2 separate regions of the Homo sapiens genome follow, and region 1 is linked to region 2. Evidence: promoter capture Hi-C in human tissues and cell types (Jung and others, 2019). All regions are on one chromosome and are shown on one strand. The core of a region is centred on a gene start or on the middle of the fragment in contact, and the rest is flanking DNA. Distances in the headings are between cores, read along the strand shown. Region 1 has its middle 12 kb from the start of UQCRC2. Region 2 holds the start of VWA3A (von Willebrand factor A domain containing 3A).

Region 1 (3,225 bases), core at 561-3,060, 150 kb before region 2:
AATTATGATGTGATTTATGTGTCTTGGAAACCATAACACTCTAAGAACATGCCACTGATAATGCTGCCAAAATTAATTACATAAAAGTCACTCCTCGATATCTCAAATTAAAATGAATTGATATAGACGCCTGTAATTGGGCCTGCTACCTAATCAAAGTCACATATAATCAGCATTGGGACATCCATGTTAAGTGTTTGCTGGGACTCTCAGCATTTGGGAAATTTGTACTAACTCTTTCCTATACATAGCTGATATGTATAGCCATTTTTTCTCTCACTTTTTCTCTCCTTCTTTGGCCATGAAGTGAAGGAAACAAACGTAGGCTGAGTACTGCTATTGCCCTAATGGGAAGGTCTTCAGTCATCTTCCTGGATGAGCCATCAACTGGCATGGACCCAGTAGCCAGACGCCTGCTCTGGAACATGGTGACAAAGACACGTGAAAGTGGAAAAGCCATCGTTATGACCTCCCACAGGTATGGCTCATTGGGAGGCTTGGTTGAAGGCTAGCAAGAGTTTTAGTGGCTATAAGAAGGAATTATTTAGGCCCAGTGGATAATATTGGACACTAAACTTGCCTGAGTATGTTAGCTCCTCATCAGGAATTAGGATTCATGTTAATCCTAATAAATCAAATGGCCAAAAATCCTCACTGAGTTTAAAAAAAAAGTGAGGAAAAGACAGGACTTCAGAAGATGTTCTATTTGAAAATTGAGCGCTGTGTTCTTTTTCGTTTGAAAAATTCCCACTTCCCATCTATGTGCTTTATGATTGGAAAAATACAAATTCTGATTGAAAATAGGGTCACAAAATTCTGGCTCTGATTGAACTACACAATGTCTTCCAAAAGAGAACTTTTTATTTTTACCCTTACAACATTCTGCCCTTTTGTTTTCCAAGTATGGAGGAATGTGACGCCCTCTGTACCAGTCTAGCCATCATGGTGCAAGGGAAGTTCACTTGCTTGGGCAGCCCTCAGCATCTCAAGAGCAAGTTTGGCAACATTTACATCCTGAAGGTCAAGGTCAAGACTGAAGATAAATTAGAGGATTTTAAATGTTATGTTGCAACAACATTTCCAGGTAAATTAAGTTGTGCTACCTTTGTCAGAAATGTATTAAATTGGCCGGGCGCACTGGTTCACGCCTGTAATCCCAGCACTTTTGGGAGGCTGAGGTGGGCAGGTCATTTGAGCTCAGGAGTTTGAGAAATGTGTTAAATCATATTTGTTGTTCTCACCATCCATATGATTTATGTCTTCAATACCAGTTTTCTGTGAGTTATTGATAGGTATTGATTTTCTATAATGTTCCTTTGGCAATGTTTGATATTATAGTCTCTTATGCCAGATTATGCTAAGTTTCACAAAAAGCAGAAGTCCTCACAAACTCTTACATCACCTAACAAGGCACTTTTATGTTTGTGCTGTCCATATAAATTAGTTGGGCGCAGTAGCTCATGCCTGTAATTCCAGCAACTTGGAAGGCTGAGGCCAGAGAATTGCTTGAGCCCCAGGGTTTAAGGCTGCAATGAGCTATGATTGTGCCATTGCACTCCAGCCTGGCAAGACCCCATCTCTAAAAAAATTAATGATAATAAATAAAAACTAAAAATAAATTATATATCTAAAGTCCTATTTTAGCATAATTCTCAATTATTTTTACAGATTATTCATGCCAAATTTTAAGGTTTTTTCCTTCACACTGCTCATGCAACTTTATGCTTTTGCTGTCTCAGCTAGGATATGGTATTGAAATGCAAATAAGAACTGGTATTTCTCTCCTTTCAAGAGTAGTTTGGTTTCTGAGTGCCGTTTCTTCATGCTAAATTCAGTAAGCACCTCTCCGCCTACATGGAACAGTACAAGAGAGAGCATGCATTTCGATCTCTTATCTCTCTTTCCTTAACCTAAAGCATGGGCAATGGCAAGGCTTTTAATAATTCTGGTTTTTCATCTTAGTTTCCACTTTGTTAGGCTGAGCAAAATACCGCAGAAGTTCCCGTTGTGTGTTAGGCTAAGGGGTTGAAAATTTGTCTCCTAGGCAATGGAAAATAGCAAAATTGATTACACAGTAAGAATGAAAATCAGGGCCGGGCACAGTGGCTCATGCTTGTAATCCCAGCACTTTGGGAGGCTGAGGTGGGCGGATCACCTGAGGTCAGGAGTTTGAGACCAGCCTGGCCAACATGATGAATCCCCATATCCATTAAAAATACAAAAATTAGCTGTACATGGTAGCACACACCTGTGGTCTCAGTTACTCAGGAGGCTGAGGCAGGAGAATTGCTTGAACCGGGGAGGCGGAGGTTCCAGTGAACAGAGGTCATGCCATTGCACTTTAGCCTGGGTGACAGAGAGAGACTCTGTCTCAAAAAAGCAAAAAGAGAAGAAAATCAGAAAATAGATACGAAATGGATGGTCAAGCATATGTGGAGAACGAGCTGTGTAGAAAAATTATCACCTCGGTGTTGGTCATAGTGTTTATGGTGTGCCCTTGACACATGTAGATGGATATGTCCATTAAGAAGTTGAATATTCATTTATGCATTCATGTGGCAAATATTTTTGAGGACTTATTGTGTCAAGAGTTCTATTTGATGTGATCAATAAATCACTTTAGGAAAGCTCTATAGGCTGGGCACAGTGGCTCACGTCTGTAATCCCAGCACTTTGGGAGGCCAAGGCAGGTGGATCACGAGGTCGGGAGTTTGAGACCAGCCTGGCCAATATTGTGAAACCCCATCTCTACCAAAAATACAAAAATTAGCCGGGCATGGTGGTGGGTGCCTGTAATCCCAGCTACTTGGGAGACTGAGGCAGGAGAATCGCTTGAACCCAGAAGGTGGATGTTGCGGTGAGCCGAGATCGTGCCACTGGACTCCAGCCTGGGCAACAGAGTGAGACTCCATCTTAAAAACAAAAACGAAAACAAAAAGCTCTGCACACTTCAAGATAACACAGAAAAACAATTCAACAAAATCGGGTAAACAATAAATGACCCAGACTAGTAACTTAATAGAGAAATTGAAATTACTTTTTAAAAAATCAAACAGAAATCATGGATATGTAATATACAGTGAATAAAATGAATAATGCAGTAGAAAGCATTAACAGCAGAGTTTATCAAGCAGAGAAAAATATCTCAACTCAAAATAGGTTTTTTGAAAATATACAGTTAGATGATTAAAAGAAAAATTAAGAGGAATGAAGAAAGCTCATGGG
Region 2 (3,421 bases), core at 397-2,896:
TAGGCTCAAGTACAAGAAAGCAGGAACAAAGAGTTTCCAGTGTTGGACTTTACTTCTATGCACAGTGTTGAAAACCCATGTATGCAGGAAGCAAAGAAAGGTGTGAGGGTGGTAGACGACCTGCTTGGGGCTCCCGTGCCTAAAAAAAAAAAAATGTTGTCAAAATTAGCCAGCCCCTTCCACCCAAAATTTCCATCAAGATGGGCACAAGGACCCTCATCTCTTGTTCACCGAGTAGCCATTGGTTGCTCACAGCCACTTATGACCTTCTTACCTCTTTCTGATCTTCCTCATTTTCTGCCTTATTGGTGCTGGCCACATAACAAATGCTGTGGTCTTATACATGGTGCTCTCAACCCCAGTGACCAGTGGTTGATAAGGAGTTTCTATTTTGAGCACGTTGGTTGTTTCTGACCTGGCCTATAGGCATGGCTGCTGGGGTCAACATCTGAAGGGTGTTCCCTACCATATGATGACTACCACAAGTGGCATATGTTCTTTATTTTTGAGACAGGGTCTTGCTCTGTAGCCCAGGCTGGAGTGCAGTGGTGCGATCATAGCTCGCTGTAGCCTTGAACTCTTGGGCTCAAGCGATCCTCCCACCTCAGCCTTCCAAGTAGCTGGGACTACAAGCACAAGCCACTGTACCTGACTAATTTTTATTTTATTTTATTTTTGTAGAGACAGAGTCTCACTGTGTTGCCCAAGCTGATCTCAAATTCCTGGCCTCAAGCAGTCCTCCCGCCTCAGCCTCCCAAAGTGCTGGGATTACAGACATGAGCCACCACCCAACCTCATGTTCTAACTGATAAAACTTACAAGTTTATAAAACTTATAAAATTCTCAGAAAGTGAAAACTGATTTGAGAAATGACCTGGATATGAAAAACTAAGTACAGATCCTTTAGCGACTTACAAGTTGGTTGACTTTGGTGACATCACTTTGTCTCTCTTGACCACTATAAAAGAAGGGTTTGGAGAGATTCCCAGCTATGGGCCAAGGACTAGTTACATCATAATCACCTGGGGCCATTGTTAAAAAGTCACATTCCCACACCTTTTCACAGTTCTGAATCAATCTCCTGAATGGGAATGTTTTCCTAGCAAACAATCCAGGTGATTCTCATGGGCATCCGGGCTTAGGAACCACTGTGGCAGATGATCTCTTCTGATGCGAAGAGGTCACTGAGCTTGGCTGTGTTAGCCAGGTTTAGGTGGGGCTGGACCGGGTAGGGATAGGGGACTGTCTGACCTCTCCCAGGGACTGTGTTCAGGGAACCCAAGGGAATCTGAGAAGGAAGAGAAAGTTACCACCTTTGACACATGTGGCAGAGTTCTCTGGAACCTCTCCTCTGTTCCTACCACAGGAAGGCCACAGGCACGCACCAGGGCTGTACTGGCCTAAACCATAGTTCTGTGCTGACTGAGAGGTTCTGAAATTAGAAAAGAGGTCTAAATCCTGCTTCCAGGTTTTTGTGAGGTGGAGAAAAGCAGAGTGACCTGGGAGAAGTGGTTATCAACAACACAGCTGGTGACTTCTTCCCTGGGGTGAGGAAGGTTTTCCCTTTCCCTGCCCCGAGCTGCAGTGGTGCAGTCTGTTACCTTGGAGACCAGCTAACACATTCCCGCAGGGCAAGCTTCGCTGCTGAGTTGCTTGGAGGAGCTTGGAGAAACCAGAAGTGAGATCCAGGAGAAGTAAGGCCCTGGAGTGCCAGGAGCCCTTCTCCCAAAGATGGAGAAATAAATGAAGAAATACAGGTGAGGGTGAGCATCACAAGGGTTGACAGGGGTGGTGAGAGGGTGTCGGGGAGGCCAGATACTAAGCTCTGGACTGAGTGAGAAGATCGAGGGAGCTTGGGGTGTGAAGTGTCCACTCCCTACATGCCGAGCATTGGGCTAAATGCTGGGGTGCCAGTAGACAAGGAAGTCATGGAGCCGGTCTAGGAGACAGGCCATGACAACTCCATATGACCAAGTGAAGGGGCAGCGACAGGAGGACTTCCACAGGAGGAGTGGTTTCCTCCCTGGGGACAGCAAATGGGATTCAGGAAAGACTCCTATTATTATTATTATTATTTTCACCCAATAATCAAGGTTCCCTCTCTCCCTTGGACCAAAATGCCATCTGCCATGGCCTGGTTGTTCTTTTCCTCTCCTGCAATCACCTCCCAGGGTAATTCAGCTCACCTTTGCCTAAACTCTGGACCTGCTCTGAGTGCATTTATTCAACAAATGTTTTTTGAGCAGCTACTGTGTTCTAAACTCTATTTTATGCAAAAATGTCCTAGCTGTGAACATTACTAAGTCCCGGCCCAAATGGATCTACTTCTAGTATGTTTATGTAGGAGGGGTGCGCGGGGGTTCAGACAGTAAATAACTAAATATATAGAAAATTTAAAACAAGTAGATAAGCAAATATATAGAATGTATTTACTGTTAAGTAAATAAGTGAATATATATAGTGAAACATGCTGTGGGGAAAGACAAAGCCAGGTGGAGGAGGTGCTGTTTGAGTTAAGGTACTCACAGAAGACCTCTCTAATAAGATTTCATTTGAGCAAAGGCCTGAGGGAAAGGGCTGCGTCCTGTTCATGTCTATCTCCCCAGCACCCGTTCTCTCTGGCACGCAGTGAGTGCTCTATAAATGTTCATGAAACACATGATTGTTTTTGTGTCATATGCTGAAGTGCTTGAAGATGCAGCCCATATTTTATGGTATTCTACATTTGTATAGTACTTCATATTTCACAAAGCAGTTCTACTTTCTCAATTTCATTTGATCCTCTTGATAACAGCATTGAAGTAGGCAGGTCAGTTACTGTTATCCCCATTCCATTCTAAAGATGAAGAAACCAAAGGTTCAGCACTTTTTTGTTTGTTCGTTTGTTTGAGACAGAGTCTCACTCCAACACCCAGGCTGGAGTGCAGCGATGCGATCACAGCTCACCGCAGCCTCAAACTCCTGGGCTCAAGTGACCTGCCCACCCCATCCTCCCTAGTAGCTGGGACTACAGGTGCGCACTGCCATGCCCAGCTAATTTTTGTATTTTTTTTTTTTTTATATAGAGACGGGGTCTCGTTATGTTGGCTAGGCTACTCTCAAACTCCTGGCTCAAGCAATCTCCCTGCCTCAGCCTCCCAATGTGCTGGGATTGCAGGCATGAGCCATTGCACCCGGCCCCGTGCTTTTTCTGGAGCACTATTTTGTTTTGTTTATTTTATGCAGTTCAACCCCTTCTCCATCAGCCTGCACCAGTCACCCCAGAATCTAGCCATGCAGTCCTCTGAATTCATTAAGAGCTGTTAATCACTGGCTGGAAAGAGGGAAGTGAGACACTATGGGGCGGCCAGTGTTCATGAGGCATTTCTATTTCAACAGTCTCTGCCATTAGAGTCTCCCAGGAAAGCTTGCTGAAGTAAAG

Evidence for each region. The method cuts DNA at HindIII sites, captures the fragments that hold promoters and counts their contacts. A contact is called where the count stands out against the background at its distance.
Region 1: a fragment that was not itself captured here is called in contact with the fragment with the promoter of VWA3A in region 2 in 2 of the 25 tissues and cell types used here (H1 embryonic stem cells and dorsolateral prefrontal cortex).

What each region holds. Positions count from the first base shown.
Region 1 is chr16:21,939,375-21,942,599 of GRCh38, forward strand. It overlaps the pseudogene ABCA3P1. Among named protein-coding and RNA genes, the nearest start is that of UQCRC2, 12 kb to the right of the region's middle. The HindIII fragment of the contact is 6,103 bases long and covers 1-3,225 here.
Region 2 is chr16:22,090,895-22,094,315 of GRCh38, forward strand. It overlaps VWA3A (von Willebrand factor A domain containing 3A), which reads left to right and starts at 1,647. Exons shown (of 34, transcript NM_173615.5): 1 at 1,647-1,757. The coding sequence starts at 1,744. It overlaps LOC105371129 (a long non-coding RNA gene), which reads right to left and starts at 1,337. Exons shown (of 4, transcript NR_188624.1): 1 at 1,314-1,337. It also overlaps a transcript of MOSMO not described here. The HindIII fragment of the contact is 3,787 bases long and covers 577-3,421 here.